Linked DNA regions of Homo sapiens: regions 2, 3, 4, 5, 6 and 7 are each linked to region 1. The links are contacts of gene promoters, found by promoter capture Hi-C in blood cells and fetal thymus (Javierre and others, 2016). All regions are on one chromosome and are shown on one strand. Each heading gives the region's core, a stretch centred on a gene start or on the middle of the fragment in contact. The rest is flanking DNA. Distances are from core to core; before and after follow the strand shown. Region 1 holds the start of AXDND1 (axonemal dynein light chain domain containing 1). Region 2 holds the start of ANGPTL1 (angiopoietin like 1). Region 3 overlaps FAM163A (family with sequence similarity 163 member A). Region 4 has its middle 28 kb from the start of FAM20B. Region 5 overlaps FAM20B (FAM20B glycosaminoglycan xylosylkinase). Region 6 overlaps FAM20B (FAM20B glycosaminoglycan xylosylkinase). Region 7 overlaps TOR3A (torsin family 3 member A).

Region 1 (2,550 bases), core at 24-2,523:
GTGTTTTTAGTAGAGACGGGGTTTCACCATGTTGGTCAGGCTGGTCTCGAACTCCTGACCTCGTGATCCACCCGCCTCGGCCTAAGAAAGTGCTGGGATTACAGGCGTGAGCCACCGGCCGCTGATGGTATTCTTTCCTGAGGGCAGATTTTCACGCCAGAAGCCCCGACAATTATACCTGAGCTGGTTCCACCTAAGCTCAATCCTCCTTCCCTGCCCCAAGGGGGTGAAAAATCTGGGCCCAGGAGGCCTTCCTTGTGCTCTGGGGGGAGGCATTTAAGGGTCCAAGGAAGACGTGACCGAAATGTAAAGCACTGGACGGCTTACCCAATAAGGGACCCAGCGTTTCTTATTACCCAACATCCCCCTGAGTCTGGCTTTTAGAAAAATATGCAAAGCGTCCGGGCGCAGTGGCTCACGCCTATGATCCCAGCACTTTGGAAGGCCGAGGCGGGCGCGGTCAGGAGTTTGAGACCAGCCTGGCCAATATGGTGAAACCCCGTCTCTACTAAAAATACAAAAATTAGCCGGGCATGGTGGCCCCCGCCTGTAGTCCCTCGGGAGGCTGAGGCAGGAGAATCGCTTGAACCTGGGAGGCGGAGGTGGCAGTGAGCTGAGATCGCACCATTGCACTCCAGCCAGCGCGACAGAACGAGACTCCGTCTCAAACAAAACAAAACAAAAAACAAACTACAAAATTAGCCGGGCATGGTGGCGTCTGCCTGTAGTCCCAGCTGCTTGGGAGGCTGAGGCAGGAGAATTGCTTGAACCCAGGAGGTGGAGGTTGCAGTGAGCCGAGATCGCACCATTAAACTCCAGCCTGGGCGACAAGAGGGAAATTCCGTCTCAGGGGAAAAAAAGAGAAAGAAAGAAAAAGAGGAAGAAAGAGAAAGAAAAATATGCAAAGCAACAAAAAAGAGAGCTAGAAAGATGGAAACAACTCAGAAGACCCTTGCTTAACCCGCGTGCGTCACGGGCTACAGGGGTCGGCCCCTCGAGCTAACCCCCACCGGCGCCTGCGCACTGGCCTGGCCCGCGGCAGGAAGCCCCGGCGTGAGACACTTTCGGATTCCGTGACAACGGCGGGATTAAACGTTTTTCTTCTCCTTTGCTACTGAACCTATGCTGTGACTTAGAACATAAGAAACTCCAAGAGGGTGTAGGGATTGTCTTAGCTGTCTCCCTCCTCCGCCGGCACCGCTGAAGGCAGCCCCTATGGAGGGCGCTAAACCTCGGGGCCCTGGGTTTCTATGACGACAAACAGGCGTTCCAGCAAAGGAGGAAGTGAGCGGATGCTGGGCGGGTACGCAATGTGTGGGTAGGATCGCGGGTGTCCCTTTCCCGTCATTTTAAACCAAGAAGCAGTGCGAGGCCTGCCCAACTCGCGAGTTTGTGGAACTGGCGCGCGAGAGCGCTGCCTGTGGGGAAGGTATGGTCCCCAGCCGAGCCGCCTGCAGCGAGTGTCCCCCACCAGGGGTGCCGGCGGTCTGCGGGGTCCGCCGAGCGGGTCCTTCCTGCCCTGCTCCTTGACCCCGACCTGACGGTCCACTAAGGCTTCTTAGTCGCTACACATAACCCCAGAACATAGAGGTCGCCCCGAAGAAGGAGAACCATGCTAGATGAATTCTAAACTGCGATCTGAACCTAAGTACTCAATAGTTGTCATCTTTTTTTTTTTTTTTAAATCTTTTTTCCTCTGCCTGCAGGACTATGTGGCAGCCTGCAAGTCCCAGTGCGGCGCTGATTTGTGTCTAAATTAGCTTTCCGGAGGACTATTTCAAATTACTAAAGAGATAGGAGGCATTGTTTATTATGTCTCTCCCGAAAACGCCCTCCACCCCGCTAAACTCTACATCAACATCTGAGAGCAAAAAGTTAAAAGTGTCTGTAGCCAAGGAAGGGACAAGAGGTAAACTTCGTTGATTCTGAAGTCATAAACAGTCATGGCCGTAAGACAGAAATCACCTTCCATTCACCGGTTTTTTAAATCTGATATTCAGAATACCTTGATTGGCTACATTTTTCTAACACACTTGCTTAAATAAAGCAAGAAGTCATTCCTTTTACAGTATTTTGAGTCAGAGTACTGTTTCACTACTCCATCTAAATACAGTTTATACTTTTTTTCAAATGTTGATTTATATATGATTTTAAATTCAACCTATTTTAAATATCAATAGTTACGTATTTTTTGGTTCCTGGTCTTTGGCTTTAAGGAACTTTGGAAAAAGTAATAGTGAGGCAGGGCGCGGTGGCTCACGCCTGTAATCCCAGCACTTTGGGAGGCCGAGGTGGGCGGATCACTTGAGGTCAGGAGTTCGAGACCAGCCTGGCCAAATATGATGAAATCCCGTCTCTACTAGAAATACAAAAATTAGCCGGGCATGGTGGCTCGCGCCTGTAGTCCCAGCTTACTCTGGAGGCTGAGGCAAGAGAATCGCTTGAACCCAGGAGGTGAGGTTGCAGTGAGCCAGGATCGAGCCATTGCATTCCAGTCTGGGAGACAAGAGCAAGACCCCATCTCAAAATAAATAAATAAATAGGCCGGGC
Region 2 (2,550 bases), core at 16-2,515, 490 kb before region 1:
TTTAAGGCATACTATTGGTAACGAGTAATTTTATCTTTAATAGTTTTTATAATGCATGTAAAAAAAGCTCCCAGATAGAATATTGAAGGAAACCTCTTATGTGTGCTTAACAAAATTATTTCTACCTAAAATATTACATATTTTTGGCCTTTTAGTCATGAATTTAATTACATCTTCTGGGTTCTTATTTTCTATTGTTAATACCACTTACATAATGCTTTTGTGTGTATATCAATAACTTAGCTTTTCCAAGTGATTCCATTTGTAGCAAGTTTAATTTCTGTCATCCAAATTAAATTACTATTACATGTAAGCCTGGAAAGCTATTTAAAATTTTGAGTTGGAACAAGAAATGCCATAGATTAATCTTAAATCTGTACAAGAATTTCTGCTTAATATTTGGTTATACTGTAATTGAGATTTTGTTGCAAAGACTTTCAACTATTTTTGTATCTTAGCTTTGTTTTATGACTACACTGAGAAATCCAACAGTTTATGTATATCTTCAGCACACACACTGTGGCTGCAGGAAGAGAAACTAATTGTGTTCACGACTATTTAGTTTGTATTCCTTTGTTTTTAATCATTGTGCTGTAAGCCTTATACATTTAATCTGTTACTTGTTAAAATTTCTTTCTACTGTCACTAAAGCACTTGTTTTCAGAAACCCAGCATGGCATGCATGTATCAGTCTGTAATCATATACACTAAACATCATTAAATTGAACCTCAAATAATGCATTAACCATTGCACAGTACTTAATGTTTTTATGTCAAGTTGCAAGATAAAACCTTTTTCAGATGAGATAAACTGTAGTATATTCCAAAGGTCTTTGTTTAGTAAAAGATTCTGAAATTTCTACTACAAATATAAAATAGTTATGCATTTGCTATACATAATATTTTTAAATAAAAGAAATATTAAATACCTTTTTGTGTCTGTTGATTCAGTGAATCCAGAAACTTGCTGCCCTTATTCTTGATTTTAAAAATCAGTGTAGAAGTTTGTTCATCTGTGACTTTAATGGCAGCTGCATTTTTGTTTTGGACCGTTGAATCCAAGCTGTAAGAAGGAACTTCTTTTTCCTTTTACAATACTAATCAATTGAATTTGACAAGCCACCTATGTAATTTTAAGTAGTATAGTGGAAGTTCTGGTCTGTGGGCCGTCTTTAATCCAGCAGAGAAAGCGTTGTGGCTTTGCTCTGTCTGCCACATGGAGAAATGCAGTAACCAGCTGCAGCTGACCCAGATTGTATATACAGTACCCCTGAATAGTGATTCCCTCTTTCTCAGTAGACTCAAGTTCAGCCCACATATTACATCACCAAAAATTGCTGGAGACTGGGGGCGGGAATCTCCTTAGGATTTCCTCTTTGTAGCCTTAAATAGGGGGGTGGGATCAGCAGGAGGTTGAATAGTTTTGAACAAGGAGAGATTGTGTGCAGGTTGAAGGAAGGGCACCATCTGGAAACAAACTATCATAGTTCAGCGGGCAATTATAAAACAAACATTTTAGTCTGCTGGCCAGAGATCTTTTAAGTTGAATACCGAAAAAAAAAATAGTGCTCCACTTCACTTAGAAGTAGTTGCAGGCTGATGAGTTTGGTTTTTGTTAACAAAGAACAAGAGCTAGACTTTGTCAGGAGGCAGCCACCTAAATAATGTAATAAATACTCTTTATAGCCTAGAAGAATTTGTAAACATTTTACTAAGTTGCTAATGAAGGTTTTAAACTTACAAGAAACTTGATGTTGTTGTAGTATGTTATGTCTTACTGTGTAATGTGTCTTAAGATAAAACAGCCTTTATATATAATTACCAAACATAAGTGAAATTCTTTCAGATGCTTAAGACTTTTAAATATTACATTCTGGTGTTACATAATGTCATATCCTCCTATTCTACAAAATGACCTCTCCTCTCTGTAAAAGGTCATTCTTGTTATTAATTGATGTGGTGTGGTTTAAAAACAAACATAACCCTGAACTGAGTAAAAAACAAGGAAGCTCTGACTCTATGCCAGCTATGTGAACTTAGACAAATCACTTTACCTGCCTCTGGCAAGGTTCTTCTGCTATGAAATAAGGTGGTGGAAGAAATGAATAAGTGTTGAGTACAACTATACTATTGTATTTCATTAATTGAAGAAATGTTAAATAACTCAGTAGCTGAAGAAACACAAACTTAGGCTTAAGTAACTTAGCTTAGCACTTAAGTACTAAGTAGTGGAACTGGGATTTGAATCTAATGCCAAAGCATTATGCCACACTCTCTGTCATTGATTACCTAGTTGCTGTAAGCTGCTTCTAGATAAAACTTTTGGGCTTTCTCTACATACCTGTGCTTTCCCTTCCTTATTGCTGTAGCTTGTGCTGTGTTTCTCTTTCTGTTAGGCCACACTGTTGATCCACATCCTTTATTTAAAGTCTGAGCTTATTTTCTACCTCTTTCACAGAATCATTTATTTGAATTCCTATGCCATATATAGGTATACCAGAGGTTGCAAACACAAGGGCCTAGAAAGGCAAATGCTCACAAGAAGAATGG
Region 3 (2,550 bases), core at 39-2,538, 450 kb after region 1:
TTTGAAGCTGTCTCTAAAAGTTTATGGGCAGATAAATGTATCCTGCAGGCAATGTGGTGCATGAGAGTCACAGAAAGGCCCAGGGGTATGAAGGAAGGCTTAACAGCTGGTGGCAGGAAGGGTACTCAGAGACAAAACTGGGAAGGTTTGTTAGGAAACCATTGTGCCAGTGCAGCTTGAGAGGTGATGAGTCTTCACTGGTGTGGGGGACAGAAGACTGGGGTAGCCAAAGAAGAATTTGAGGAGTTTAAATTCTGGGCAGCTAGGGGAACGTCCCATGGGCTTGTCAAACTCTAATGTGCAACCTACTCAATTGGGACCTTGTTAAAATGCAAACTCTGACTCATTAGGCCTGTGGGGGGCCTGAGATGCTATCTTTCTAATGGTGCTCCCAGGTGATGCCCACGCTGCTGGTCCACAGAGCGGGAGTGGATTTGGAGCCACACTGCCGGGCAGGTGCAGCCCTCTAAGAGGACAGTGGTGGACATGTGATATCTTTGGGTAAAGAGATAAAGGCACCCCCTTTTACCTGGTGAACACACCAGGGTGCATAGCTTTGTGAGCACAGTGCAGTTGGGTTCTAGCCCCCACTTGCCCTTTGAGTAATAAACAATTTGCAAAGCCCTTCGGGACAGCTCTGGTGGAGCCACCAACAGAGCCTCCAGACAGGTCGGAGGAGAGGAGTCCATTTGGAGAGCAGGGTGGTGACTTTAACCTGTCATAACTGAGTTTGAGATGACCACTGGGACATCCACTGAAATGTCTATCTACTAGCAGCTGGAGACCCAGCTGGAGACCTGGACTTGGGGTCTGTGGGCTCACTGATGATATGCCACACAGCGAAGAAAGCAAAATGAGGGTTGTCTGGGAATCATCTAACCCTTCTGGCCTTTTTCAGTGAGTAACTCTCTTCTTCCAACATCTCTGTCCTTTCTGTTGTCTTGCAGGTCGCCGTTCCCTTTACTGAATGTAAGTGATCGTAGTCATTTTTCCATCTCCAAGATGCCAACTTCCCATTCCCCACCCTCCTGCCCCTTGGTCCCAATGCACCTGGGAGGCTCAGAAATCCCCATTCACTGACCTAAAAGGAGAATCTGTCTGAAGCCATGACAGCCTCATGCCCAGAGCTTGCCTCTGTCCTGTTCATTCAGCCTCAGAAGCCAGGACCAGTCTCCCCAGCTTGGCCACAGCCTTCCAGGGCCCAGAATGCCACACACCACTCCCTCTGGGCTCGCCTTGCCTTTGTTTTCCAGGAGGGTTTGAAGGAGAAGAGAGATACCCCCAAAAGAAGTGCTGGTTTGAGCCAGAGAAGAGCCACCTGGTGTTTTCGAGATGTGGCCCTTTCCCCGCCAGCCCGGGCCAAAGGCTCAGGGACCACTGGGGTGTGTGCCAAGAGGGCGGGGATCAAGAGCACAGCCTTTGGGATGAACGGGCTGGGTGGAATCGCAGCCAAATTATTCGCAGCCCCGTTCAGCATGCGTGCGGTAGGGATAGCTAATAACTGCCCCGAAGGGTTATCGCGAGGATGTAGTAAGATGCGTGGGGGTGCTTAGCATGATGCCACACAGGGAGGAGCCCCGCAATCAGCGGCAGCTGTTCCTCTGTGTCTGCAGCCACGCAGAAGCGGGAGCTAAGAAGGGTGTGACGGGAGAGGAAAGGCGAGAAGAGCACCAAAGGGGAAAGATCGTGAGAACTTTTTGAAACTGGGTACTCAACTTCGCCCACTTAGGCTGGCCCAGTCTGGAGCCACAGTCGTCCTCAGCCTTCAGGAAACCCCTGGGGCCTGGCCCTCCCGGCACCTGCTGCTCTCAGGCCCCCTGCCCCAGCCTCGGGGCAGTTCCAGGAAGACTCCCCCCGGCCCAGCCCAGGGCTGCAGCCACAGCTGGTCCTCAGCCCTCCGCACATCTTTGCAGAGTTTGATGGGGCGCCGGGCGGATGACAGCGGGAACGGTTGTGATCACTGGCGGAATCCTAGCTACGGTGATCCTCCTCTGCATCATTGCCGTCCTGTGCTACTGCAGGCTCCAGGTCAGTCCCCGGGACCCGTAGCCAGAGGCTGCCAGGCCACCAGCAAACCTCTTTTTCATTATGGGGGCAGAAACTGGAGGCCGACTTCAGGGCCCACAGAGCCCAAAGCTATGGAATGTAGCAGGCGTAAGTCAAGGAGGATGGGAGTTGGGGCTGGTCGGAAGGGAGCTAAGTGCCCCCCAGCCTGCCCACTCAGAGCACACAGAAAGTGTGCTGGAAAGATACGGGGTCATTGGGTTGTGTCTCCTGCACCTCTGAGATTTCAGGAGCATGGGAAGAGCACCATTCTGGGGAGGCTCTGAAAGCTGCCGCCAGCAGCTCCAGCCCTGTCCTCAATATGATGTGTGTGTCCCTGCCCCGCTCAACTACAGCCTGGAGTTACTGCGAGGAGTGGTGGGAGGGGAAAAGGAAAGCAGTACTGGCCTTGCAAAGCTGGGATTAGAAACTTGTGGAGCAGGCCCCTGGGGTTCAGTGCCTGGCACTAGGTTCTCCATGGAGCAGGGGACAGGGGCACCTGTGCAC
Region 4 (2,550 bases), core at 18-2,517, 370 kb before region 1:
CACAAACAGAGTAGATTTAGCAACCCTCAAAGGCACTAGGATTTTCTTTTTCTTTTTCTTTTTCTTTATTATTTTTTTTTTTTGAGATGGAGTCTCACTCTGTCACCCAGGCTGGAGTGCAGTGGTGCAATCTTGGCTCACTGAAAGCTCTGCCTCCTGGGTTCACACCATTCTTCTGCCTCAGCCTCCCAAGTAGCTGAGACTACAGGCGCCCACCACCACGCCTAGCTAATTTTTTTGTATTTTTAGTAGAGATGGGGTTTCACCGTGTTAGCCAGGATGGTCTTGATCTCCTGACCTCATGATCCACCCACCTTGGCCTCCCAAAGTGCTGGGATTACAGGCGTGAGCCACTGCGCCCAGCCAGCACTAGGATTTTCAGAAAGGCAAATGAGCCTTGGCTTCAACTTTAAGTCATCAGGGGCATTAGCCCTAAAGAAGAGAGTCAGCCTGTCCTTTGAAGCTTTGAAGCCAGGCATTGACTTATCTAGCTATAAAAGTCCCAGATGGCATCTTTTTCTAGAAACAGGCTATTTAACCTACATTGCAAATGTTTTTGGTGTAGCCACTTTCATCAGTGATCTTAGCTGGATCTTCTCTGGATAACATGCTGCAACTTCTAAATCAGCACCTGCTGCTTCACCTTGAATTTTTATGTGATGGAGATGGATTTACCTCATGAACAAATCTCTGCTAGCTTCCAAGTACTGTTCTGCAGCTTCCTCACCTCTCTCAGCCTTCATAGAATTGAAGACAGTTAGAGTCTTGCTCTGCGTTAGGCTTTGGGTTAAGGGAATGTTGTGGCTAGTTTGATCTTCTGTGCAGACCAGTCAAACTTTCTCCATATCGGCAATAGGGCTGTTTTGCTTTTTAATCATTTGTATGGTCACTGGAATAGCACTTTTAATTTCTGTTAAGAACTGTTCCTTTGCATTTACAACTTGGCTACCTGTCTGACACAAGAGGCCTAAGTTTCAGCCGATCTCAGCTTTTGACCTGCCTTCCTCACTATGCTTAATCATTCCTAGCTTTTGATTTAAAGTAAGAGATGTATGACTCTTCCTTCCACTCATACACTTTGAGGTCATTGTAAGGTTATTAACTGGCCTAATTTCAGTATTGCTGTGTCTTGGGGAATAGGCCCAAGGAGGGAGGAGGAAGGGACAGAGAGAGAGAGATGGGGAAATGACTGGTGGGTGGAGCAGTCAGAACACATACAACATTTATCAATTAAGTTCACCATCTTGTATGGATGCAGTTTGTGGAGCTTCAAAACTATTATACTAAAGCCAGGCACTGTGATGCATGCCTATAGTCCCAGCTACTTGAGAAGCTGAGGCAGGAGGATTGCTTGAGCTCAGGAGTTCAAGGTCAGCCTGGGCAATATAACAAGGCTGTCTCTAAAAAAACAAACAAGCAAAACTAACAACAAAAAATCACACTGATAACATCAAAAATAACTGATCACAGATCACCATAACAGATAAAACAATAATAAAAAAGTTAGAAATATTGCAAGAATTACCAAAATGTCACACAGAGACACAAAGTGAGCACATGGCACCAATAGATTTGCTCAATGCAGGTTTACCACAAACCCTCAATTTGAAACCAATGCGATATTTCTGCAAAGTGCCATAATACAAGGTATGCCTGTATTGAATAATGCAATGTTCAAATCTTCTAGCAAAGTGAACAGAACTACACAGAATCATGCTTTGAAATTGCCAATTTAGGAAATTATATTTGTTTTCAAAACTTGTTATTTCTTGGAACTCCACTCATAGGATTTGTTAAAAGTGTGTATAAAAAATACATAAACCTATTAATATTATTTTATTTGCAACAATAACTCATAGAACCAAGTAGAGCCACAAACATGCCCTCATAATATTGCAACAGCTATACACAAGCGAGATTATGTGATGACCACGTCTCTCCTATGCATTCCTGTGCCCATTCCCAACAATGTCCACCTTAACCTTCAATTTGGAGTTGTCAGCATTTTCCTGCTCCAAATTTTGACTTGAAGTCAATGGAGTCCTTCAAATCGGAAATTTCCCTATGTTGATTAAGCTTCAGTGCTCATAGAACTATCATACTTTTGCCTGTTTTATCAAATTCATTTTTCTCAGGTTTTGGGATTTGAAAAAAATATATGATTTCCCAAAAAAAAATGCCCAGAAGAAATCCCTGCATGAAAACACTAGGCCATGATCTTTGCCTGATTGCTAAAGGAAGAATCTTGTTAAACGAAATAATATCATAAATGAGAACGTGCATGGGGGTAGTGAAAGCAATGGGTTAGGCCCTGGTTGCTGCCTGTTAGAAGAGCCCTGGCCCTCACACACCCACAGCCCAGGCACGATGTGATGTAACCCTTTATTATTTCCCAGGACATCTCAGATCTGTTTTCCTCTGAAATATTAGGACTCACATCAGCCCTTTGGTCACAGTTAACAGTGCATCATTTACATCTATGTGTGACTTTGTCACTCTGTGGCACCCAAGTAGAAAGAAGAAGGTAAAGGCACATTAGAAGAATCCATT
Region 5 (2,550 bases), core at 19-2,518, 320 kb before region 1:
TGGGATTACAGGCATTCACCACCACACCCAGGTAATTTTGGTGTTTTTTAGTAGAGATGGGGTTTCGCCATGTTGGCCAGGCTGTTCTCGAACTACCGACCTCAGGTGATCCACCCATCTTGGCCTGCCAAAGTGCTGGGATTACAGGTGTGAGCCACCGTGCCTGGCCAGCAAAAGTTTTAATTACACATTTTTCTTCATTTCTTCAGGTCAGTCTAATAAACATTTTAGTAGACATTTATTAAGCACCAACTATGTGCTTAACACTGTGCTGGCAATACAAAGACAGTCCTTGCCTTCCAGAAAACTACCTTTTATCTGTACTAAAACTACATCAAAAGCCCTTTAGTGGGGCAAAAATGACAGCTTCCATGTTTTATTCTTAGAATGATTGGTGACGTAGATAGAGAATTCTAGTTTCCTTCTCTACCTCATCTTCATTCCATCTACCGGCAATTCATGCTAATCCACAGTTGTTTGCAGGGTTGACAGAGAAGGTGACTATAGCAGAATCAGGCTTGCTAATGGGTGTATTCTACCACTTGTGCTGTCACCTGTTACTGGTGTAATCCACGTATACATCTGTGCTTCCCATTCACTTTGCAGGTATAGCCGAGACCATGTGGTGGAAGGGGAACCGTATGCTGGTTATGATAGACACAATGCAGAGGTAGCAGCCTTTCACTTGGACAGGTGCGTATGATCACAGCAGCTTATGTTCATTTTGTTTGCTTTCAAAAATCTTTCTTGGAGAGGACTCGTGGACTCCTTCAGAAGGATGCAACACTAATAAATAACTTGTTATCGATTTTAGATAGCTAATTGACTAGTTCCATTAAACTTGTATGAGTCTCATAATTTGGTTGGCACCAGGAATACTGAAGTATTTTACTTCCATGCTTCTTTAGGTCATTTCATTTCTGGCCTGCTCTGTTATTATCATCAGTGAAGATATTCTTGGTAAATAAACTTTGAACTTAAATCTCTGAATTGAACTGGTCGTTAATTGGGTCTAGCCATCCTGTTGTTTTGTTATGTATTTGTTTTAAGTAAGTAATGCTGACTTATTTCCATGTGCTGGAAACATATAGCATGAAATATGAGTTTTATTATTCTTTATACAAACTATGCACAGCTTCAAAAACCAGAATAATTACAAAAGGAAAGGGCCAGGCGTAGTGGCTCATGCCTGTAATCCCAACACTTTGGGAGGCCAAGGTGGGCAGATTGCATGAGCTCAGGAGTTCGAGACCAGCCTGGGCAACATGGTGAAACCCCGTCTCTACTAAAATACAAAAAATTAGCTGGGCGTGGTGACAGGCACCTGTAGTCCCAGCTTCTTGGGAGGCTGAGGCAGGAGAATCGCTTGAACCCAGGAGGCACAGCTTGCAGTGAGCCGAGATCGTGCCACTGCACTCCAGCCTGGGCGACAGAGCGAGACTCTGTCTTTAAAAAAAAAAAAAAAGGAAAGAAAATAGATGTGAATTATAAGTTTGTAAGTTAACTAGGAAAATTCTTTTTTTTTCTTTTTCAGCAGGTTACTAGTCAGGAACCTTGCAGCTGAACTGTCTGGTATCCCAGTTACTCTGCTGACCAGCTCTTTCATAAGGCCATATTGGCTGACTTTAAAAGAAACTGCTAACAATATTTGTTTTAAAAAATTAATTTATGACTGGATGCAGTGGCTCATACCTGTAATCCCAACACTTTAGGAGGCTGAGGTGGGCAGATCACTTGAGCCCAGGAGTTCAAGACCAGCCTGGACAACATGGAGAAGCCCCGTCTCTACTAAAAAAATACAAAAATTAGCTGAGTGTGGTGGCGTGTGCCTATAGTTCCAACTAGTGGGGAGGCTGAGGAGGGAGGATTGCTTGAGCCTGGGAGGTCGAGGCTGCAGTGAGCTGTGATCACACCACTGCACTCCAGCCTGAGCAACAGAGTGGGACCCTGTCTCAATAAAATAAAATAAAATAATAAATAAATTTTTTTTCTGAGACAGAGTCTCACTCTGTCCTCCAGACTGGAGTGCAGTAGCCTGATCTTGGCTTACTGCAACCTCGACGTCCTGGGTTCAAACAGTTATCCTGCCTCAGCCTACCGAGTAGCTGGGACTACAGGTACGCACCACCACACCCAGCTAATTTTTTGTATTTTTAGTAAACACGGGGTTTCACCATGTTGGCCAGGCTGGTCTGGAACTCCTGACTCGAGGTGATCCGCCCACCTCAGCCTCCCAAAGTGCTGGGATTACAGACGTGAGTCACCACGCCCAGCCTAAAAATGAATTTATAAGGAAACCAGAAAAAAAAAGGTGAAATGTTTGTCTTTTTCTGAATTAGGATTTTGTAAACATAAAAGCAATAACTTAAAAATCACAAATTCAATAGTCTTGACTAAATAAAATAATGAACTTATATAGCAAGAGACAAAATTTAAAAGCAAACAACAAACGGAGAAAACACTTGAATCTAATGTAATCTGAGTATTAATAGCCTTAATATGTGTTTATACAAATATTAATGGTCTTAATATGTGTTTATACAAACATAT
Region 6 (2,550 bases), core at 36-2,535, 290 kb before region 1:
GCTCTGGGCATTTGTAATATATTTAAGAATAAAAATAACTGTACTCCGTCTGTGCCTGTTTGTCCCTTCCATGCATGCTTTATGCAGCAGTCTTTCTTACCTTTTAAATTGCTGCACAACAGGCTGCCTTTTACAGAATCAGACATTTCTGCATACCCAGTAATTCCTCCTTTACCCACAGAGAGCTAAGAACTTTTCTTCTCAGATTTTAAATAAAAGATATGCTATAGTTGGTGTCTTAGTTCGTTTTGTGCTGCTGTAACAGGATACCACAGACTGGGTAATTTATTTTATTTTATTTTATCTTATTTTGAGATGGAGTCTCGCTCTGTTGCCCAGGCTGGAGTGCAGTGGCGCGATCTTGGCTCACTGCAACCTCCGCCTCCCAGGTTCAAGTGATTCTCATGTCTCAGCCTCCCAAGTAGCTGGGATTACAGGCATGTACCACCATGCCCGGGTAATTTTTGTATTTTTAGGAGAGATGGGGTTTCACCATGTTGCCTAGGCTGGTCTCGAACTCCTGACCTCAAGTGATCTGACCCCTTGGGCCTCCCAGAGTGCTGGGATTACAGGCATGAGCCACCATACCTGGCCAGACTGTGTAATTTATAATGAACAGAAATTTATTGGTTCACAGTTCTGGAGGCTAGAACGTTAAATATCAAGGTGCCAGCATCTGACAAGGGACTTATTGCTGTGTCATCATGTCACATGGCAGAAGGCAAAAGGGCAAAGAGAGAGGGCAACAAGGGGCTGAACTCGCCTTTTTTTTTTTTTTTTTTTTTTTTTTTGAGATGGAGTCTTGCTCTTTTGCCCAGGCTGGAGTGCAGTGGCACAATCTTGGCTCACTGCAACCTCCACCTCCCGGGTTCAAGTGATTCTTGTGCCTCAGCCTCCCAAGTAGCTGGGATTACAGGCACCTGCCACCACGCCCAGCTAATTTTTGTATTTTTAGTAGAGACGGGGTTTTACCATGTTGGCCAGCCTGGTCTTGAACTCCCAACCTGAGGGCCCACCTCGGCCTCCCAAAGTGTTGGGATTACAGATGTGAGCCACCGCTCCTGGCCTTGAACTTGCCTTTTAATAACAGCATTAGTTCCACCCATGAGGGCAGAGCACTCATGGCCTAACGACCTCTTAAAAGACTCTACCTTGATACTGTTACAATGGCAATTTCAACATGTATTTTGTAGGGGACAGACATTCAAATGGTAGCAGTTGGTGAAATAAGGCAGATAGGTATCCTTAAAATAATTTTTTCCGCCAGGCGCAGTGGCTCACGCCTGTAATCCCAGCACTTTGGGAGGCCGAGGCGGGCGGATCACGAGGTCAGGAGATCAAGACCATCCTGGCTAACACGGTGAAAACCCGTCTCTACTAAAAAATACAAAAAAATTAGCCGGGCGTGGTGGCGGGTGCCTGTAGTCCCAGCTACTCAGGAGGCTGAGGCAGGAGAATGGCGTGAACCCGGGAGGCAGAGCTTGCAGTGAGCCGAGATCACACCACTGCACTCCAGCCTGGGCGACAGAGCAAGACTCTGTCTCAAAAAAAAAATAATAATAATAATTTTTTCCCAGTAGAAATTATTTTAGACTTCAGAAACACATGAGGAAGAAGGAAGTTTATAGTACCCATTAACGTCTAAGGATTAACGTCTAAGGATCCTCTTGTTAACACTGTAGTGTACTTCATTCCAATCCATGTATGTGTATTTTGTTTTCCTACAGATTTGAAGTGAAACAGGTTTTTCCTCCAACCTCTTCCCCCCACCCAGCATCATATCATAGGCATTTTCCCATTCCACTAAATTTTCAAAATTGTTTTTAACAGCTGCATGGTATTCCTTTCAATGGATGAACCATAATTTAACTATTTCCCAGTCGTTAGACATTCAGATTGTTCAACATTTTTCCTGTTATAAACAGCACTGCAGTGAACATGTGTGTAAATCTCTGTATATATCTCTGATTAGTTACACAGAAACAATATCAAAACATAGTAATGTGGCTTACTCATTATGTAGGGGTAATTCTAAAGCAAAAATTATTTAGTTAAAGGATTTTACCTAATTATTTTTTCACTTTTGTCTGCCTAGCAGGCTTTCAACTCCGTTTGATAATGAGAAGTTTTATGTACCTTGTTCTATAACTTTTTCTCCCAGCATTCGGGTGTCCACCTGGAACAGACTGAACTACCTAAAGAATGGTGTGCTAAAGTCTGCCTTAAAATCTGCCATGGCCCATGACCCCATCTCCCCAGTGCTCTCTGATCCTCATCTGGACGCCGTGGACCAGCGGCTCCTGAGTGTCCTGGCCACCGTGAAGCAGTGCACCGACCAGTTTGGGATGGACACAGTACTGGTGGAAGACAGGATGCCTCTCTCACACTTGTAATTCTCGACACAAAATAAGTGAAACTTCTTTTTACAAAGATAGAGAAACAGCACAATCAATTCCAAATGGTATGAGATGGATTGGAAGTGGCCAGCAGCAAGTTCTGGTGACGGGACAGAGTGGCCTTGGATGTCTTTGGTATTTTCTGTAGTAGAAA
Region 7 (2,550 bases), core at 51-2,550, 280 kb before region 1:
GGGAAGCCTAGGTGGGTGGATCACGAGGTCAGGAGATCGAGACCATCCTGGCTAACACGGTGAAACCCCGTCTCTACTAAAAATACAAAAACTTAGCTGGGCGTGGTGGCGGGCACCTGTAGTCTCAGCTACTCGGGAGGCTGAGGCCGGAGAATGGCGTGAACCCGGGAGGCGGAGCTTGCAGTGAGCCGAGATCGTGCCGCTGCACTCCAGCCTGGGCAACAGAGCAAGACTCCATCTCAAAAAAAAAAAAAAAAAAGAAAACAGGCCTATCCTATCTTACCTGATTTTTTCATGTCTTCCCGTATCAGCTTATTATATACCAGCAAGTGGATGGACAGAAATTTCCTTGGCTGTTCTGCCATTTTGGGTTTCTTCTACTAATTCAGCCATGTAGTATTGAAAACATACCAGAAGAGCCTGACAGAATTGACTGCACCTGTCTTTGGCTTTGTTTTAATATTTGGAATGTGTTCACCTGGGAAGATTATGTCAGCGTCTGAGGACAGAGGCTGCCCGCGTCTCCTGGCAGTTTCCATATGGCTTTGGAGGGCAGGGGCAGGCTGAGCTGGGCCTTTCCGGGCAGAACTGTCTGGCTTAGACTGTGGCAAGACTGCTGCAGCCCCAGCTTCCCTGCTGTGAAAACTGGCATGTGCATAGCCCTGCACCTCACACTTTCCCCCACAAAGGTGCACCCAGTAGACAGGGAGTGTGGGCTCTGGAGTGGGAGCTGGCCCTGAATAATATATTCCCTGCCCATTTCGATGAACATTGCAAAGAACCATCTTTTCACTTGAGGGTTTACTGTCTTGCCTGGGGCAAGGAACCCTCCACAGCTTGCAGGAGCCAAGTTGGATGTTGGTTAGGCCCAGTCAGTCCTTCAGCAGGCTTGCTCCCCTGAGATCTCGGCCCAGCCAGGGTGCCAGTGGGCGCTCTGCACCCGGGAGTTCAGGGCAGGGGACTGTGGCTGCCTCTGGGCACATGAGCCTCTCTTTGCCCATCACCCCTGTATGAAAGCTCAACTCCTATCCACCCCCTGGGAATAGACCCTGAGCTTAAACAGGGAAGTTGCGCCTGGATGTTTTTGTTGTAGAAGTAATGAAAGTTTGCGGGTGTGTGGACATTGTTAGCTCCTGGATGGGATGTAGTCCTGGAGAGGAGAGAGCAGGGCTGGAGCAGGGGCCCCTTCTCAAGGGCAGAAGGGCTTCTCCCCACTCCTTTCTAGGCTGTCTCCTAGTCCCCAAGCTGGCTTCACCTTGTTTAGCTTTCAACCCTCAGGGTGCTTGAGAATCACCTGGGAGCTGGTCAGATGCAAATGTCCTAGGCCCTCCCCAAGAGCTTGGATTTGATAGGTTCTGGCGGGGGGCGGGGGGTGGGGAACCCAGCCCCAGGGGGTCCATTGCACATGCCCAGGGGAAACCACGCCCTCAAGGCCGGAGGTGGAAGGAGTCACCACTTCCCCAGCTGCTCCCTATATCCCGTGCAGGAGCAGCTGATGAGCCAGATCCGGGAGACGCAGCAGCTCTGCCACCAGACCCTGTTCATCTTCGATGAAGCGGAGAAGCTGCACCCAGGGCTGCTGGAGGTCCTTGGGCCACACTTAGAACGCCGGGCCCCTGAGGGCCACAGGGCTGAGTCTCCATGGACTATCTTTCTGTTTCTCAGGTGGGTTCTGGGGAACAATAGTCAGGAGGGCTGGGGGAGGGGAAGATACTAGCTGGCAGTGGAGGCTTCCACACGCCCCCAGGTTCAGAACCTTTCCTCAAGAAAAAACAGCACAAACTCTGGTACAGAAAGCAGCAGCCAGCTGTGGTAGCTCACGCCTGTAATCCCAGCACTTTGGGAGGCCAAGGCGGCCGGGTCCCTTGAGTCCAGGAGTTCAAGACCAGCCTGGGCAACATAGTGAAACCCCATCTCTACAAAAAATATAAAAATTAGCTGGGCGTGGTGACATGTGCCTGTAGTCCCAGCTACTCGGGAGGCTGAGGTGGGAGAATCGCTTGAACCCAGGAGGTGGGGGTTGCAGTGAGCTGAGATCGGGCCACTGCACTCCAATCTGGGTGACAGATTTTTTGAAACAAATTCCCAAGGCAAGCCTGGTTAGAGAACGGCATAGTCTCCCATCAAGTCCAACACGGCCATTTCTTCCTTCAGCCTTGGAAGTCTGTTTCTTCTCCGATTATGAGAAGTCATCACTGGCTTAAAATCCAGGGTATACGGGTTGAGAAACCCATGCTTCCTCTGAGTACCTGTAGTTCAGTTGTGACGCTACCATGCGGGACCCAGTCACTGAATCACTGCACTGAGGTTCCTGTGCTTTCACTGACATCTTTGCGTGAAGCCAACTTAGAAATAACTTGTCCAACCTCATCTTTTTGCGGAGGCTCCAACTGGGGGAGTCCTGTGTCTGTTACAAGTCAAGTTTGGGCCCTTGTTGACCCAATTTGAAGGCTTCACAACAGCTCGAGCCTCGGTAGGAGTCAAACTGAGTGCTCCCTTCCCAACTCCACTCCGGCCTCGCCTTCCCCAGGCCAGCACTTGCTTGCTGGG

What was found. The method cuts DNA at HindIII sites, captures the fragments that hold promoters and counts their contacts. A CHiCAGO score of 5 or more calls a contact.
Region 2: a contact is called between the fragment with the promoter of ANGPTL1 here and the fragment with the promoter of AXDND1 in region 1, in 2 of 17 cell types (total B cells and naive B cells). The highest score is 7.9, in total B cells.
Region 3: a contact is called between a fragment that was not itself captured here and the fragment with the promoter of AXDND1 in region 1, in 1 of 17 cell types (naive CD8 T cells). The highest score is 6.0, in naive CD8 T cells.
Region 4: a contact is called between a fragment that was not itself captured here and the fragment with the promoter of AXDND1 in region 1, in 1 of 17 cell types (naive CD8 T cells). The highest score is 5.5, in naive CD8 T cells.
Region 5: a fragment that was not itself captured here is called in contact with the fragment with the promoter of AXDND1 in region 1 in 6 of 17 cell types (non-activated CD4 T cells, activated CD4 T cells, naive CD4 T cells and 3 more); the score reaches 6.8 in non-activated CD4 T cells.
Region 6: a fragment that was not itself captured here is called in contact with the fragment with the promoter of AXDND1 in region 1 in 17 of 17 cell types (naive CD8 T cells, naive CD4 T cells, activated CD4 T cells and 14 more); the score reaches 20.0 in naive CD8 T cells.
Region 7: a fragment that was not itself captured here is called in contact with the fragment with the promoter of AXDND1 in region 1 in 17 of 17 cell types (activated CD4 T cells, naive CD8 T cells, neutrophils and 14 more); the score reaches 28.4 in activated CD4 T cells.

The regions. Positions count from the first base shown.
Region 1 is chr1:179,364,698-179,367,247 of GRCh38, forward strand. AXDND1 (axonemal dynein light chain domain containing 1) reads left to right here and starts at 1,274. Exons shown (of 26, transcript NM_144696.6): 1 at 1,274-1,303; 2 at 1,707-1,909. The coding sequence starts at 1,813. RefSeq lists enhancers at 825-1,224, 1,605-1,674. The HindIII fragment of the contact is 9,843 bases long and covers 1-2,550 here.
Region 2 is chr1:178,869,812-178,872,361 of GRCh38, forward strand. It overlaps ANGPTL1 (angiopoietin like 1), which reads right to left and starts at 1,266. Exons shown (of 6, transcript NM_004673.4): 1 at 930-1,266. The region is part of intron 8 of RALGPS2 (Ral GEF with PH domain and SH3 binding motif 2); the gene reads left to right. The HindIII fragment of the contact is 10,209 bases long and covers 1-2,550 here.
Region 3 is chr1:179,811,163-179,813,712 of GRCh38, forward strand. FAM163A (family with sequence similarity 163 member A) reads left to right here. Exons shown (of 5, transcript NM_173509.3): 3 at 948-969; 4 at 1,914-2,028. The coding sequence starts at 1,936. Among named protein-coding and RNA genes, the nearest start is that of MIR12116, 8.5 kb to the left of the region's middle. RefSeq lists a silencer at 1,932-2,157. The HindIII fragment of the contact is 3,773 bases long and covers 1-2,550 here.
Region 4 is chr1:178,996,495-178,999,044 of GRCh38, forward strand. No RefSeq gene overlaps it. Among named protein-coding and RNA genes, the nearest start is that of FAM20B, 28 kb to the right of the region's middle. The HindIII fragment of the contact is 1,613 bases long and covers 462-2,074 here.
Region 5 is chr1:179,049,673-179,052,222 of GRCh38, forward strand. FAM20B (FAM20B glycosaminoglycan xylosylkinase) reads left to right here. Exons shown (of 8, transcript NM_014864.4): 3 at 607-693. Among named protein-coding and RNA genes, the nearest start is that of FAM20B, 25 kb to the left of the region's middle. The HindIII fragment of the contact is 2,855 bases long and covers 1-2,550 here.
Region 6 is chr1:179,069,752-179,072,301 of GRCh38, forward strand. FAM20B (FAM20B glycosaminoglycan xylosylkinase) reads left to right here. Exons shown (of 8, transcript NM_014864.4): 8 at 2,162-2,550. The coding sequence ends at 2,393. Among named protein-coding and RNA genes, the nearest start is that of TOR3A, 11 kb to the right of the region's middle. The HindIII fragment of the contact is 6,644 bases long and covers 1-2,550 here.
Region 7 is chr1:179,086,425-179,088,974 of GRCh38, forward strand. It overlaps TOR3A (torsin family 3 member A), which reads left to right. Exons shown (of 6, transcript NM_022371.4): 4 at 1,487-1,665. Among named protein-coding and RNA genes, the nearest start is that of TOR3A, 5.6 kb to the left of the region's middle. RefSeq lists enhancers at 1,212-2,113, 2,114-2,550. The HindIII fragment of the contact is 7,792 bases long and covers 1-2,550 here.